Linked DNA regions of Homo sapiens: all the other regions are linked to region 1. The links are contacts of gene promoters, found by promoter capture Hi-C in blood cells and fetal thymus (Javierre and others, 2016). All regions are on one chromosome and are shown on one strand. Each heading gives the region's core, a stretch centred on a gene start or on the middle of the fragment in contact. The rest is flanking DNA. Distances are from core to core; before and after follow the strand shown. Region 1 holds the start of RAB9B (RAB9B, member RAS oncogene family). Region 2 overlaps BEX4 (brain expressed X-linked 4). Region 3 holds the start of TCEAL8 (transcription elongation factor A like 8).

Evidence for each region. The method cuts DNA at HindIII sites, captures the fragments that hold promoters and counts their contacts. A CHiCAGO score of 5 or more calls a contact.
Region 2: a contact is called between a fragment that was not itself captured here and the fragment with the promoter of RAB9B in region 1, in 2 of 17 cell types (fetal thymus and total CD8 T cells). The highest score is 8.1, in fetal thymus.
Region 3: a fragment that was not itself captured here is called in contact with the fragment with the promoter of RAB9B in region 1 in 1 of 17 cell types (naive B cells); the score reaches 6.3 in naive B cells.

The regions. Positions count from the first base shown.
Region 1 is chrX:103,829,809-103,834,455 of GRCh38, reverse strand. It overlaps RAB9B (RAB9B, member RAS oncogene family), which reads left to right and starts at 2,199. Exons shown (of 3, transcript NM_016370.4): 1 at 2,199-2,396. The HindIII fragment of the contact is 1,396 bases long and covers 1,431-2,826 here.
Region 2 is chrX:103,215,944-103,220,590 of GRCh38, reverse strand. BEX4 (brain expressed X-linked 4) reads right to left here. Exons shown (of 3, transcript NM_001080425.4): 3 at 3,345-4,442. The coding sequence starts at 4,437. The coding sequence ends at 4,075. Among named protein-coding and RNA genes, the nearest start is that of BEX4, 3.2 kb to the right of the region's middle. The HindIII fragment of the contact is 2,684 bases long and covers 1,347-4,030 here.
Region 3 is chrX:103,250,535-103,255,181 of GRCh38, reverse strand. It overlaps TCEAL8 (transcription elongation factor A like 8), which reads left to right and starts at 27. Exons shown (of 3, transcript NM_153333.3): 1 at 27-104; 2 at 505-577; 3 at 1,165-2,187. The coding sequence starts at 1,203. The coding sequence ends at 1,556. RefSeq lists an enhancer at 41-90. The HindIII fragment of the contact is 681 bases long and covers 1,926-2,606 here.

The DNA of each region.
Region 1 (4,647 bases), core at 950-3,449:
CTATCTACCGACTACACTATGATTCTATTGTGTGTGTGTGTGTGTGTGTGTAACTGTGTTATAAAAATAGAATTTTTATTGTGTGTGAAGGACACTATTTGACAGATCTCAATGATTGACCATTGGGAATAGTCCCATCTGAGAGCCACAAAACCATCCACAGCTGTTACTTTGAATCTTCGTGCTGTCCATTTTTGCTGATCCCTCACAACTAGTGTTAGTCATGTTGCTTCCATTCTAGAAAGATAATAGTAGCTGCTTTTTAAGTGGCCTCTAGAGACTCTTTTAATATAGGATTTACATGTAGGAATCTTTGGTCTAACAAAGGATTTTTCTTACCTTTAGGTGTTCCAACATTCACTAAACGTGTGGTGCTTTCAGCAGTTGTGAGATCCTGACTACAGAACGAGGTAGCTTAGAAACTAAAAGATCCTTAAAACTTGCCAGTTGGTTTGGGGGTTTCTCAGAGATTTTTAAACTGTTGGAAAATGGCATCTATGAGAAAATGAAAAAGTAGTCTAGATTGTTACACCTAAAGACGAGTTACTCTAATATGAAGGACTGTTATTTAAAGCATTTCACAAAACTATTTATTGAGGTGCAAAAAGAAAACATTGGAACATCAATATATTTATTTTTCTCATTCTTTTAAAATTTCTGTGGAGTATTTTAATGTTTACTCATTAAAATGTATGTTTAAAGTAATGTGTAATGTATACATGTACAGTAGTACATGTATATAATCTATAAATCCTTATACATATGTTGGGGCCCATGCTCAATAGTTTTTTAATAGACTAAAATGTATGCGGAAAATTTGATTTAGAGGATTGTGTGAATCTCGTCTTCATCAGAAGAGTGTTTTAGAGTGTATGTGTGGGGAACGGGGTTGGTTTAAATAGGAGCACATGAGATTCAGTTACATCAATTTATTTTATTTAAATATAACAACTATTAGTGATACAGCATTCATTCATATTCAGCAAATATTTTCTGAGCATGTCCTATGCAGCAAGCATTGCCCTAGGCTCTGTGCATACGGTGGTGAACACAAACGTTGTCCTTGACCTCATAGTCCTTCCCCACTATAGTTTAGTAGGGAAGACAGCTGTCAACCAAATAATCATACACTTAAATGTACCACCAAAAATGGGTAAGTGTTATGAAGGAAAAATACAGCAAGTTACAGGAGGCTACAAGAGTATAAACTGGGGCACCATCTCTATTCTGAGATTATCGAGAAAGGTTATCCTGAGAAGTGACATTTAAGCTGGGGCCTGCGGAGATTGATTGCACGATTGCCTTGTCAAGAGACAGAGGAAGAGTGGCCTAGATGGAAGTAGCGGGTATGTGTGAGGGCCTGGACGGGGTCATGAGATGAGTGAGGGCCTGTGCCACAAGGTCACAGGGTTTCGGGCAATGGGGAAGCTTCAGAGATGGAGCTGCCTGACAGAGAGGTGGAGTGCAGGCTAAATGACCTCAGGAGCTTTGTCCTTCTTCAATTCCAGGGGGAAAATCACAAACTAGTTGGAAGTACCAGAGGGCTACAGAAAACAACAAAAAGAGACTAGCTGGTCGGCTAGGCACAATTAAAACATCAAATTCTGCCCCAGCAGCAATTCCGGGAAATTCAAGTAATGCCCCCTGTGTGGCCCTCTAGAACTGTATCTGGTAAGAGTAAAGGGCAGTGTGTCCTCTATGCCTGCGCTACAGATGTGGACATTTTTTTTAATTGCCTGAAAATTTCATAAGCTGTAGCCAGTTAGAGGGCCTAGCAATGTGTTGTGATCATGTGTTTTCCTGAGTTATTTGAAACAAGAGGGTGTATGTACTACCCTCTTGGCAAAATTAAAGGATTTTGAGCTAGGATAAATGAGGTAGATCAGAGGATAATTGCAGGAAGTGGGGCAGTGGCTAGCCCTGCTTGAGGGCTTAGGCCCAGGCTGCAGAGGAGCTAAGTGGAAGAGCAATATTTGACGGTCTATTGCCGCTGTGCCTACTAATCGGCTAGGGGAGGAGAAGGAGGACAAGGGAGACCAGGGTTGGACGATGAGCATGAAAGAAGAGTGGGCGAGCCAGGGAGCGCTTGCCACATGGAGGGCGGGAGGCGGCTACACCGGGTCCCCACCGCCGAGAAAGGGGCACGAGGAGGCGGCGCGGGCCCCGCCCCCTCCCCTGGCGGGCGCGGGCGCGGGCTCGAGACGCTGCGCGGCGGCAGCGGCGGGCGCGAGCGGCAGCTGTCAGGCCACCGAGGTCCAAGCCGCACTTGCTGCCCCATTGAGGACGAGGAGGCAGCAGGAGCAGTGACGGTGACTCTAAGGAGCCGGATTCCCGGCACGCAGAGCTGACCTGCCTGGCACCCGCGGCCCTCTCCTGTTTCCTTCCCATTGTGTTGGGTAAGGTGCCTGTGCGTGGGCAGGAACAGGGGCTAGGGGCTGGAGGACCCGGAAGGCCGGGAGGTGGGGGGCCTGTGAGAAGAGGGAGAAAGGAAAGTCTAGTTGATCCCCAGGACCACTCGTAGCTTGAGAAAAGGGACTGAGCCGCTCCCGAGGTCGGAGTCGGGGGCAGGTGACAGTGCAGGGGGGCGTTGCTGAGTAATCCCGAGCTGCTGCCAGAGCCGAGCAGAGAGGCGCAGGGCTCCGTGGGGAGCGGGTGTGGCTCAGTGCGCATGCGCCACAGCCGACTAGCTCTAAGAGCTGGGGGTGAGGTGAGAGGACCTGGGTCGGAGGTAGTTGGGACTATGTGTGACATCTCACTTTCTAGGTCCGTAATGCTAACAGTGCCCCTGTCGTAGAGATGCCAGCATTCTTGTCTCCCAAGGAAGCTTTTTTTCCTTGTGTTCAGCTCGCTTGATGTCATCCAAACCTTATCTACCTATCTGTCCCTGGGCAGTCTACTGAGGAAGAAGTGTCCTGGGGACGATGCCAGATTGCTATCTAGTGTGCCTTTGGGCTTATAGCCCTAGAGCTGTCGTTGTGAGCAGTGAAAGGTTAGATGTGGGACTCCACATTGGACCCTTTGAGTTGCATATAGGATATAAATGTGGGCATGAATGTAGGAATAGCGTTTCAGTGGCATGACAGCTGTGGCATTTGGAGTCGGCATGGATGTAGCTGATAACTTGTTAGCTCTGCAAAATGAATCCAGTGCGTCAGAGGGTTTCCGCGCTACGAAGCACCCACCACCAGCACCAACGCCAAGTATTGGGTTGTATTGGAAACACACTCAAACATTCAATCATTTCTCATCCGTGTTGAATTTTACATAAATATAGCCGCGCCCAATTCTTCAGTGCAATATTTCCAATTATTGTGCCAGCATTCAACAGTGAGTTGAGTAGCCCTTACCAGTGTGTCGCCACAAGATGGGCTTTCCCCACAGGTCCAACCATGGCTCCTCCCCTGTACAGACTTCCAACAGTGCCACTCTCATCCAGTGCCTAGCCCTCCCCAGTTGCTCTTCCCCTATCGATCCCTGCAGTACACATCCCTTTCAAGACTTGCCTCCGAGCAATCTGCACTACTGATTTTGAGCATCATTCCACTCCATGGCAACTGAACTGATGCGAATTTGCTTTTCTGCCTCTCTTCTCTCCATCATCATACTAAAATGTACTATTTTCAAAGGTTCAACTTCTTTTTCTTCATTGTACTGCCTCCTCCCCCACCTCCACTCCCACCTCTAAGCATTCCCAACTAAATACAATAATTTGAATAAGGCTTTGTGGGTACTGCAGATTCAGAAGGTTTCAAGTGTGTTAAAGAACAAAGAGCTGGGGAGTATTGGTTATGGAAATTCCTAATTCACCTTACTCTCCAAGACTGAGACCCTGATGGGAAAAAAAAAAGTTAGTAAACTATCCTTAGAGCATGCTCATTAATGAGTTTGTGGGGGTAGGAAAGGGGAATTGCGTCTCTCGAATATTTTACTCAGTTAGAGTCAGATCTTTCTCTGAATGGGATCAAAATCAGAATAAGCGTTTTGGTCCAAATGCTCGCCCGACAGAGGACCCATAAGGGATGCATACGTCATTTGACTTTCCTATTTACGTATTTAGTGTTATCAAAGAATTCATTTGCCTGCTTAATGTTACCTTGTTTAAAGGTTTGGATTAAATCCGGCATATTCTGGGGGAGGAAAAAATGATTTCATTTGCTTTTACACTGTGCTAGTTCTTTTTAATTTAAGTATGTACTAAAGGACATGACATTCATTTTCAAACAATGATAAATGATTGTGGAGAGGCCAGCACCCACCGACAACATCAACTGGATATCATTATTCTGCTCTTGTTTTGGGTAGGAATGGGGAAATGTATATACTTATTTTTAAAATGTGAGAGTAGGGGGAGGAAAACTGGAGCATTTCCCTTGACTTTCAACAGGTGGAATTCCCATTACTCCCCATCCAGAAAATGATCGAGTCAAGTTCATAACTTCTGCTCTTTAGTTACCTTATAAATAATAGTATTTTGGCATCTTACAGAACTATGGATCTATTGTACCTTGGCATCAATTCAGAGGCATTAATTCTGGGCACCTACCTAATCATTTAATTGGTAAACAAATATTTATTATCTCCATGGAGGATCCTGGTGCTGCACACTGAAGGGGCTTCAAAGATGTATACAGTGAGCTTACTATCTAG
Region 2 (4,647 bases), core at 1,439-3,938, 610 kb after region 1:
CCTAGGGGGATGGGCAACACTGACCATGCTCCCACTGCAGATGCTCTTGCACCAAACCCTCTGGCCTCCACTCTAGCTGGAGTTCTACCCCTACCACTTCTCTGAGCAGCTCTCCCTGCCAATTCAAGTGTCCATAGTGGTCAAGGTTCTCCTCCTGCCAGGATTCCAAAGGCCTGTGGGCAGTTGGTTGCTCTTTGCCTGTTCATCTCACCCCTTCCCCAGGAGTAGTTGGGGACTAGGAATGAGTCCTGGTGTACCTGTCCCGGGCAGTGTTCCCAGTTTCCTCCCCCTTTAGTGCAGCATCTGTGTCTCTCCTCTGTCTGCTCTCAATGTCTTCCCTCAGAAGATCTACTAGGAGTGTGCCAGTAGATGTCCTGTCCCTCCATGGGAGATGTTCCTCCTGGCTGCATCTAATTGGCCGTCTTACCCCCTCTCCTGGTATTTTATTCTTGTTATATTTGAATTGTTTATTTGTTTTTGCTTTTTTCATTAGAAGTTCAATCTTTTTCTTGCTGGCTGTCCTGGCCTATATGGGCTGCTATAACAAAATATCATAAACTGAGTGGCTTATAACAACAGAAATTTATTTCTCACAATTCTGGATGCTGTGAAGTTCAAGACTGGGTGTTGGTAGATTCCGTGTCTGATGAAGGCCTGCTTCCTGGTTCACAGAAAAGGTGAAGGAGCTCTTTGGGGTCTCTCTCTCTCTTTTTTTTTTTTTTTTTTTTGAGACGGAGTCTTGCTTGCTGTGTCACCAGGCTGGTGCAGTGGCATGATCTCGGCTCACTGCAACCTCTGCCTCCCGGGTTCAAGCGATTCCCCTGCCTCAGCCTCCCCAGTAGCTGGGACTACAGGTGCGCACCACCACGCTTGACTAATTTTTTATATTTTAGTAGAAATGGGGTTTCACCATGTTGGCCAGGATGGTCTCGATCTCCTGACCTCGTGATCTGCCTGCCTCAGCCTCCCAAAGTGTTGGAATTACAGGCGTGAGCCACCACGCCCAGTCTGGGGTCTCTTTTATAAGGGTACTGATCCTATTCATGAGGACTCTGCCTTCATGACCTAATTCCCCCCAAAAAGCGCCACCTTCTAATACCATCACCTTGGGAATTAGGTTTTCAACATTTTAATTTTAGGAGGGACACAAATATTCGGTCCATAACACTGGCCTTTTTAAAGACTTCTTCAGTGATATCTCCAATTTCTGTAATATGAAGACAGCAGCATATGCTGCTGTGTAAGATTAGACTGACTCTCCTCTTCTCAGAGGTCTTGTCAGTCTTTCTCCTCTTAAGTTCTGGAAGATTTGCCAGGCATTAGTTGACAGGCATCCTTCCCAAGCTTTGCTCCAAAATCCATAAAAACATGCACATTTTCCTCAAGAAACTAAAATTTTACAAATATGAATGTATAAACCACTGATAGGGATGAATGTGTTAGCCCTTTTTCTTCACTCTTGGTTTATTTGCTTTTGTTGGTTTTTATAAAAGAGTCATTATACTTTCTTGCTAGTCTCTTTAGAGGCATTCACTGACATCTCTCTGTTGTCACCTTAAAAAGACAAAATGTATTGCCCACCAAGATCAAGGAAAGTTGACCCTCCCATGGGATGTATAAATGTGTTCGCTGTGATAGCTCTGTTCTTCTTCAGTCACCTGATCCAGCCCCCTCTAGCTTTTTCTAGAAAGTTCTCTCTTTACTCCTCCACCCTTGCAGCAACACAGAGGTAAGGGAGTTTTCTTCAGTTCTTCAATCACGCTCCTGATCATGTTCTGGTCACTGAACGTTATGTCCTCTAAAGTTTTGTGCTCGTCGCCTACCATCACAGAAACTCCCACGATAGGAGTCTTAATTTAGTTCTCCTTCAACCAATTACATTGTGACCCCGTTCCCTGACCTTTACCATTTCCAGCAAATTCTGTTCTTATCATCCCACTCTCCCAGAAACACCAAGGAGACAGGGCTCATTTTGGTACTTCAAAAAACCATATTCTGAACCCAAGCATTGACACTTTTATTTCTTCCAGAAAGTCTGTCCTTATTCCTCATTCTCCCCCAAAAACCCCAGTGAGGAGGCTTCAGCTTTCTTTCAACTAATCATGTTCTGATCTCACACCCCCACAGCTAGCTTTTTTTGTGAGGGAGGTAGATTGAGGCTACTTTGGGAAATCCACAATTGGTCTTTGCCAGAAGGCATAGTACTCATTTTCAGAGGAACCAAAAGATCATTCATGGACTCTACTCAGTCAACTAGCCTTTTTGAAGTGCCTGAGTTCACCACTGTGCATTTTCAAATCAGACTCTATATCATCCTCTTCCTCTAGACAGGTGAAAGATCACTCCAGCTCCAAAATTATCTGAGGCAGAGTTTCCCTTAAATGTGGTTCTCAGTTGAACATGCAGGAATTCTGATGACTAAATAGTGTGAAGTTCATATAAAGTGATTTTTGCATAAGTTGTATATGCTTTTCCATTTACACTGATTGGCAATCAGTACATAATGCAAAAATTTCCAAATAATTCTTTGTGGAGGCAATGTGGTGAGAAGACAAGCACCCTGAAGCACCAAGGCTGTGGTCACAGCTTTCACTAATTGGCTGTATGACCTTAGGAAAAATCGCTTTCTTAACAATTCTTCACTTGTGAAACCAAGTTTGCACCAAATAAGTGATTTTCATTCTTTTTTCACTGTGATCTAGTTAGAAATACATCATAAAGGTGGCAATATTTACTACATAGAACACATTATTTTCTCCAAAACAATTCTTAACACTACTCACGGGTGATAGGATGACTTTTGTTCTCTTTTTAAAAAATTGCTTGTTGTAACCCACAAAACTGATTTCAAGAGCCATAGAGTGGCAATCCTAACTTTGAACAACACTAGAGGATCTTACTTTTTTTATCCCTCAATATTCTAAAAATTAAAGTGTACTTGAGATGTAGAAAAACAGTGTATAGAAAAACAGCCCCATTCTTGCTGAGTCTCTTTTACCATCCTCAGCTTGTCATCAAGTTACAAAAGTCAAATATTCTGCATCTCCAGATGATAAGGTCCAATAGAAAATGGCCCAGGCTGGATTCCCCCACCCCCAAGATATTCAGCAGGAGTTAGCCTTGGTACTTAACATCTCTAAGCCCCAGTGACCTCATCTGTAAAAGTGGGATAACAATACAGATTTTATAGGTTGTTCTAAGAATAAAATGAGATCCTGGATGTGAAACTGCTGACAGGGGTGATGAATTCTGAGTTCCTCAGGCTGTGACCTTCAGGCATGTTTTGCTTTGCACAGTGAATAACTTTGCCACTGTCCCTACCACTCCTATAATCATCAGTCTTATTTTAAGGTCTCATACTTTTCTTTTTTAATTACTTGCCCATCAAAGTCAGATTTATCTTGATATTGTTTATTGTTTACGGTTATGACACATTATATATATACACACACACACATATGTATATAGTTACGTACACACACACCAATGGCACTGATTTTGGTACACATCAGAATTACTTAAGAGAGTTTGTTAAAAATGGAGATTCTGGAGCCCCACTCTGTGAGTCTGGACGATAGGTCCTACATTTTTAAATGCCCCTGCCTGCCCCCAAGGTGTTTTTATACAGATGGTAGACTCACTCTGAAAAACACTAGAACATACATTCTTAAAATATCAAACATTGAATTCTGGGTATGATCATTCTTTTTTGGTCAGGGACAAGAAAAAAACTGTCAAAGACAACTGAGATTTTGAGTCCAGGTAGCCGGAGGAGGAAAAGTAATACTTACAAAAATAAGGACTGGAATGAAAAAGGAAGATGATGGAATACAGACTGCTTTTTGAACTGCTTTATGCATTTCATATTATGAAAAGAGTATTTTTCCTAAAATAGGTGAATTGCCATGCTGACCGTAACTTTTAGGCTGAGACAAAACAATATTCAATTAGAATTCTAATTTCCATTAGAAACTGGTAAGTGTAAACCCCAAAAGGCTTACAGAAAAAGTAAATCACAAAAATACAAGCTTGTAAAGCAGTGTTCACATTAACCTCAGCGAAAACTTTTAGGATTCAAGGTATGAGGCAAAAGTCATAATGGTTGTCAGGTTCAGGAGTTTGGAAGCGCATATAGTGCCTCATCTGCTGTTCCCTAGTCTTTCTCTTGATTTCCATCATCTGCCCTACAAACCTTTCTACATCATCTCTCGCTTCATTGTGCTCAATATGCCTATTAGGTATGGCCCATCGAAAATTAGGGACAAGTCGCCTAACTCGCCCCCGCCTGATATTTCCTCCAGGCTTCTGGCCTTCACCCCCTCCCAAATGGCGGGATTCTTCTTCATTCTGCGTGGGGGCCTGCTCCCCTCCTTCGTTTTCTTGTTGGGCATTTTCCCCGTTGAGATTGTTTGCCGCTAGTTCCTCTTTGGACTCCATTACTCCTAGGAGACAAGAGAGAGAAAATGGGCTGAATTCTTGGTGGACTGATAAGCACTGAGGACAGAGGCCCTACTAGGCACCTTTTAAAATTCAGAGCCCTGGACTTGACTTTATACTCTAACATTTCATTTTTTTCCACCTGAGAAGCCAGTATGCCCTGTGGGGTGCCCTCAATCCGAGCCCCTCCCTTCCGCAAAGCCCACCATT
Region 3 (4,647 bases), core at 1,017-3,516, 580 kb after region 1:
GACCAGGAGTCGACGTGTGCAGAAGTCCTTATAGTCCAGGGCCTGTTTCCCTGTAGCAGCTCCTTATTGCTGGAGAAGGAGAAAAGTGCCCAAGATCCTTTCAGGTTAGTATAAACGTGGGCGCTGACTTGGAGACCCTGGGGTCGAGGAGGCCGAGAGCAGAAAGCAAGCGGGGCCGGCACTGCTTTCCCCACTTCTGTTCCGCCAAACTCCCATTTTGTGCAGGAAATTTGGGGCTGTTTGGTGGGGGATGGCGGGTGGAGAGAGAGAAGGGTAGCTAATTAAGGGTCCTGAGAGAGAGACATAGAAACTGTTTGGAAGAAACTTGCTTTTCCTACTCCCTGCTTGCAGAAAAACGGTGGGCACGGAGGAGGGCGGGGTTGCCATAAAAGGAGGGCGAGGATGAGGACATGGGAAACTTTACACCAACATGGCCTAGAATCATGAAAGGGACCCGTGATCCAGGTACTAGTCTGCTCACCAAACACTCCCATCTGTCTGCAGGATATTTGGTTTTTTGGGCGCGACACAAATCGAGGTGAGGGAAGAGAGAGGAAAATCCCCTGAATCCCTGCAGGTCAGTTTTTGTAAAGGTGCAATTGCTTCAGGTCTCTTCGGGTGGGGGTGGAAGTGTGAGTGACACCAAAGCACATCCTGGGGTCGCAGCAGCCCCTCCCCATCCGGATTAAGTGCCAGAGGCCGGTGCCGAGCCTGCAGCGGAAATGAGGCGGGGGAGGAGGAGGCTTAAGAGACGCTGAAGGGGGAGGGGAGGCCAGAGACTGGACCAGCCGTCTCAGGTGAGAGGCTGGAGGTTGAGAGGGCCTGGGAAAGTCTGAAGGGCGGGAGTGTTGGAGACCAGAGGCGGGAGAAGGGTTAATTGCTTCCGTACTGCTCCCATTTCAGTATTAGGAGAGGCTTGTAGCAGGGCCTGCTGGGAAGATGGTGGGCAGGAGCAGGAGGAGAAAGATGGAGCTGGAACGAAAGGGGGCGCGAAGGGAGGTGGAGTCAGGGGAGTTCTGAGCCTGAGGATCCAGCTTTCTCTAGTTGGAAAACTTTTGACAATTAGGGTACTGAGTCAAAAAAGGCCAGTCGCTATGGGACCCCATACTCTGACTGCTGGTCTGTTTGCCTGGAATCTAGTAGTTTTGTTTCCTTGTTTTCTAGGATTAATTTATTCAAAAAGGAAATAAAAAATACTCAATATGCAAAAGTCTTGTGAAGAAAATGAGGGAAAACCACAGAACATGCCAAAGGCCGAGGAAGATCGCCCTTTGGAGGATGTACCACAGGAGGCAGAAGGAAATCCTCAACCTTCCGAAGAAGGCGTAAGCCAGGAAGCAGAAGGAAACCCCAGAGGAGGGCCGAATCAGCCTGGCCAGGGATTTAAAGAGGACACACCCGTTAGGCATTTGGACCCTGAAGAAATGATAAGAGGAGTAGATGAGCTTGAAAGGCTTAGGGAAGAGATAAGAAGAGTAAGAAACAAGTTTGTGATGATGCATTGGAAGCAAAGACATTCACGCAGCCGTCCTTATCCTGTGTGCTTTAGGCCTTGAATTCATTTTTGCCTAATATTAAAATCTGGCCCCAGCTTTCTTTCTGTTAGCATTTTCTGATGTATCTTTGACCTCCATTTTACTTTTAATCATCTGATGAAATTTTGTTTTAGGTAATTTCCTTGGTACCAGCATCTCATTGGATTTTGGATTTTGACCCATTTTCCAGGTCTATTTTTCAATTGGAAACTTTCACACATTTGCATGGGAATATGTTCATTCCATGTTGTAAAGTAAAACATAACAGGTTATGGCAAAGCAGCATATTTAATATCAGCTCACATATGTAGGATAAAATTCCAAACTTTGTGTGTGTGCGTGTGTGTATACATACATCCATATAACATATATCACAAACTTAACCAAGCTTATTTCTGTGTGGTGTGAAATTTTATTTGTTTTCTTCTTTTTGTTCTTTTTGCTTATATGTACTTTTTAATGAACACGTGTCTCACACACAAAAAGAATTAAGGATTTTTTTTACAAGTAAGAGTCAAATAATTTGCAACCAGCTTATGAGGGCAATGGGGGCACCTAAACTCTTGATGAAAGAACTTTAAAAAGAAATGTAAACCTCAAATTACCTCTGGATCTCTTAGCCAGAGGAATAAACTGGCAATTATTACAGATACACACGTTTAAGACTCAGTCTTTTCATGGGGAAAATATTTGCTTCACAGGGCTGCAGTGGGGAAGAAATGAGGCAGTAACAGCTGTGCTCAGTGAGATCTTGTTCCCACCTGTGCATACGGAATCCCAACCCACTATAGAAGCACCAATATTTAAGGGAGGGCCTGGCATGATGCAACTTGTACTCAGGATCAAGTCCAGTAGGCAGAGGTGGGGGCTTACCTATCAGTCCTCTGCTATTGAACCCTGTCTCTTCCCCTGGTTCCTGCCATGCCTGCCCAACACTGCTGCCTCTTCTGCTGAGTGCTGTGCTCCCTGCTGGCCCCACTACTGCTGATGCACTGCAGTCCTTGAGGGCCAAAACCCCACCGAGTTCCCTGGAGTCCTCAGTAGGTTGAACTTTCACTGTCTTCTAAAGCTTCTCTCTGCTTTATAGTGACACTTAACACAGGTGGGACTTCTCTAGGGTTGCTTGGGCCACAAGGTCTTTCAGAGCCCTTAGCAAAATAACCCTTCTGTTTTCAATCACAAGACCCTTCTTCTCCATAGGAGTCAGATGTGATGACTCCATTTGGGATTTGGACTGGGGTATAAGTTTGAGTCAAAGACCTGTTGTAATCACAGTTTTTGCTCTAAGTCTAAGGAATGAGGTTTTGTCCTCGTGGGATGATCTCTTCCTGAAGGCTCCTGGGCAGGCCTGACTTACTGGTTCGGAAGACTGCTGGGGAACATATATAAATTGCACAAAGTGATGCAGGGAACAGATCTAAGGAACAGTCCCCTTAATTCCATCTCTTCTGTTGACCTGTGGTTAAAAAAAACTTTCAAAGTCAGTAAGAACCTTGTAAATGTACTTGAAGTAGAATGCTACTATATAAATGTTAGAGATTATATTTCCCCTGTAGAACAAGCAAAGACTGTCTCTTCCTCTTGGTATCCCACATATGAATACTTGTATGTGTTTAACTGGCACATTGTGTTTTAATATTTAATTGATTTTTTGATTGCTACTAAGAGCTAGTAGGTTTGTCCAAATTAGGTTACTCGCTGAATAATCTACAAGTCTTTAGTTCTCTAGAGTTATGACAAGCAATTCCAAGAAGAAACAGGGCAGAGAATTGATTGTACTCTAAATGTTTTATTATAAAAGTATCTCACATAATCACCTGCATCAGAATCTGCTGGGGAGCATCTTGAAAATGCTGATGTCTGGGCCCCACATAAGGCCCACTGACCCACATTCTGGAGGTAGACTGTAAAATTATAGCTTGCAAACTCCTCCAGGTGATAATGATATGGACTGAAGAATGAGAACCACTAGTAATACAGTATGCTTTTCATTATTACAAATATTAACTATAAAATAATTGGCAGGAAATCTTGGTGAGTGCTTACTGACATTCAGGAAATAGAAGGCCTATACAAGCATTTATTGTTTTAAGTATGAATTTTTAAAGGAAAAGATGGACACATCTATACATAAAATTTAAAAGGTTCGTGTTAACAAAGACAAGATAAAAAGCTAGGGGGAGGAATGTAACATAAGATGCCTTTTTATTGACTGAACACCATGTTTAGCCATGCATTGCCTCCTTCCAATATGAGTAAAATGTATCAGAAATAAATTCAAAATTCTCTTTTAGTAATCATCTCAAAAAATAATTGAGCCAACCCTGCGCCCTTGGCTTTCTTCTGTTTCTATTTTTTCACTGTATGATGTCATTTGCAGGGAATCTTCATGTCTCCAGACCATTCTTCAAGGTGATGGCAGCCTGATAGGCGCTAGTCAAACTGGAATTCTAGCTGGAGTGAGATAAAGTTCCAGGTTCACCGGAACCAGTTTTACGAGAAAGGATAAATCCTCCGCACAGCCCCCAGAGGGTGGTGCTCAGACAGGATGTTAAAGGGTTGGCCCAAGCAACACTTCTGACTTTGTCCCTCCACTCCAGTCTGCAGCAGGTACTAGGTTCTCCTAAGGCTAATGGCCAGGCTATCCTGGACATACACATGTGGAGGAGGATGACTGTCCTATTTCAGGTCAGAGCACTTTGCCTTTCCCTCCTTTTCCCTTTCTCTTCTGGGGAACATTTTGTAGGGGAAAAGAAAAAGCTCCATAACTTCCCAGTTGAAAACATTGGTTGGGATAATCTTTGAGCAAGCAAATGTCTGAACAGGTCTGAACAGGTCTGACCAGGTAACTTGGGGTTGAAGCAGAAGGGGCTGACCCTTCTCTCAGAGTTCGGTGAAGTAGCCCACAAGACAACTGGGGCAAAAACAGAGTTAGACAGCACACAAAACCTCACCCATCCCTCTCCCACCCACCTTGCACAGACTCCCAGAAGGGCCTCGATGTGCCCTGGCCTGTTTGGTTGGTTCTGCAAGGACTTTAGCTCTGTGTCTTCCTGGTGCAGAGCATCTGATGCCTGAGCCAGCCCAGGCCCTGAAGCACAGGAGACCCCAG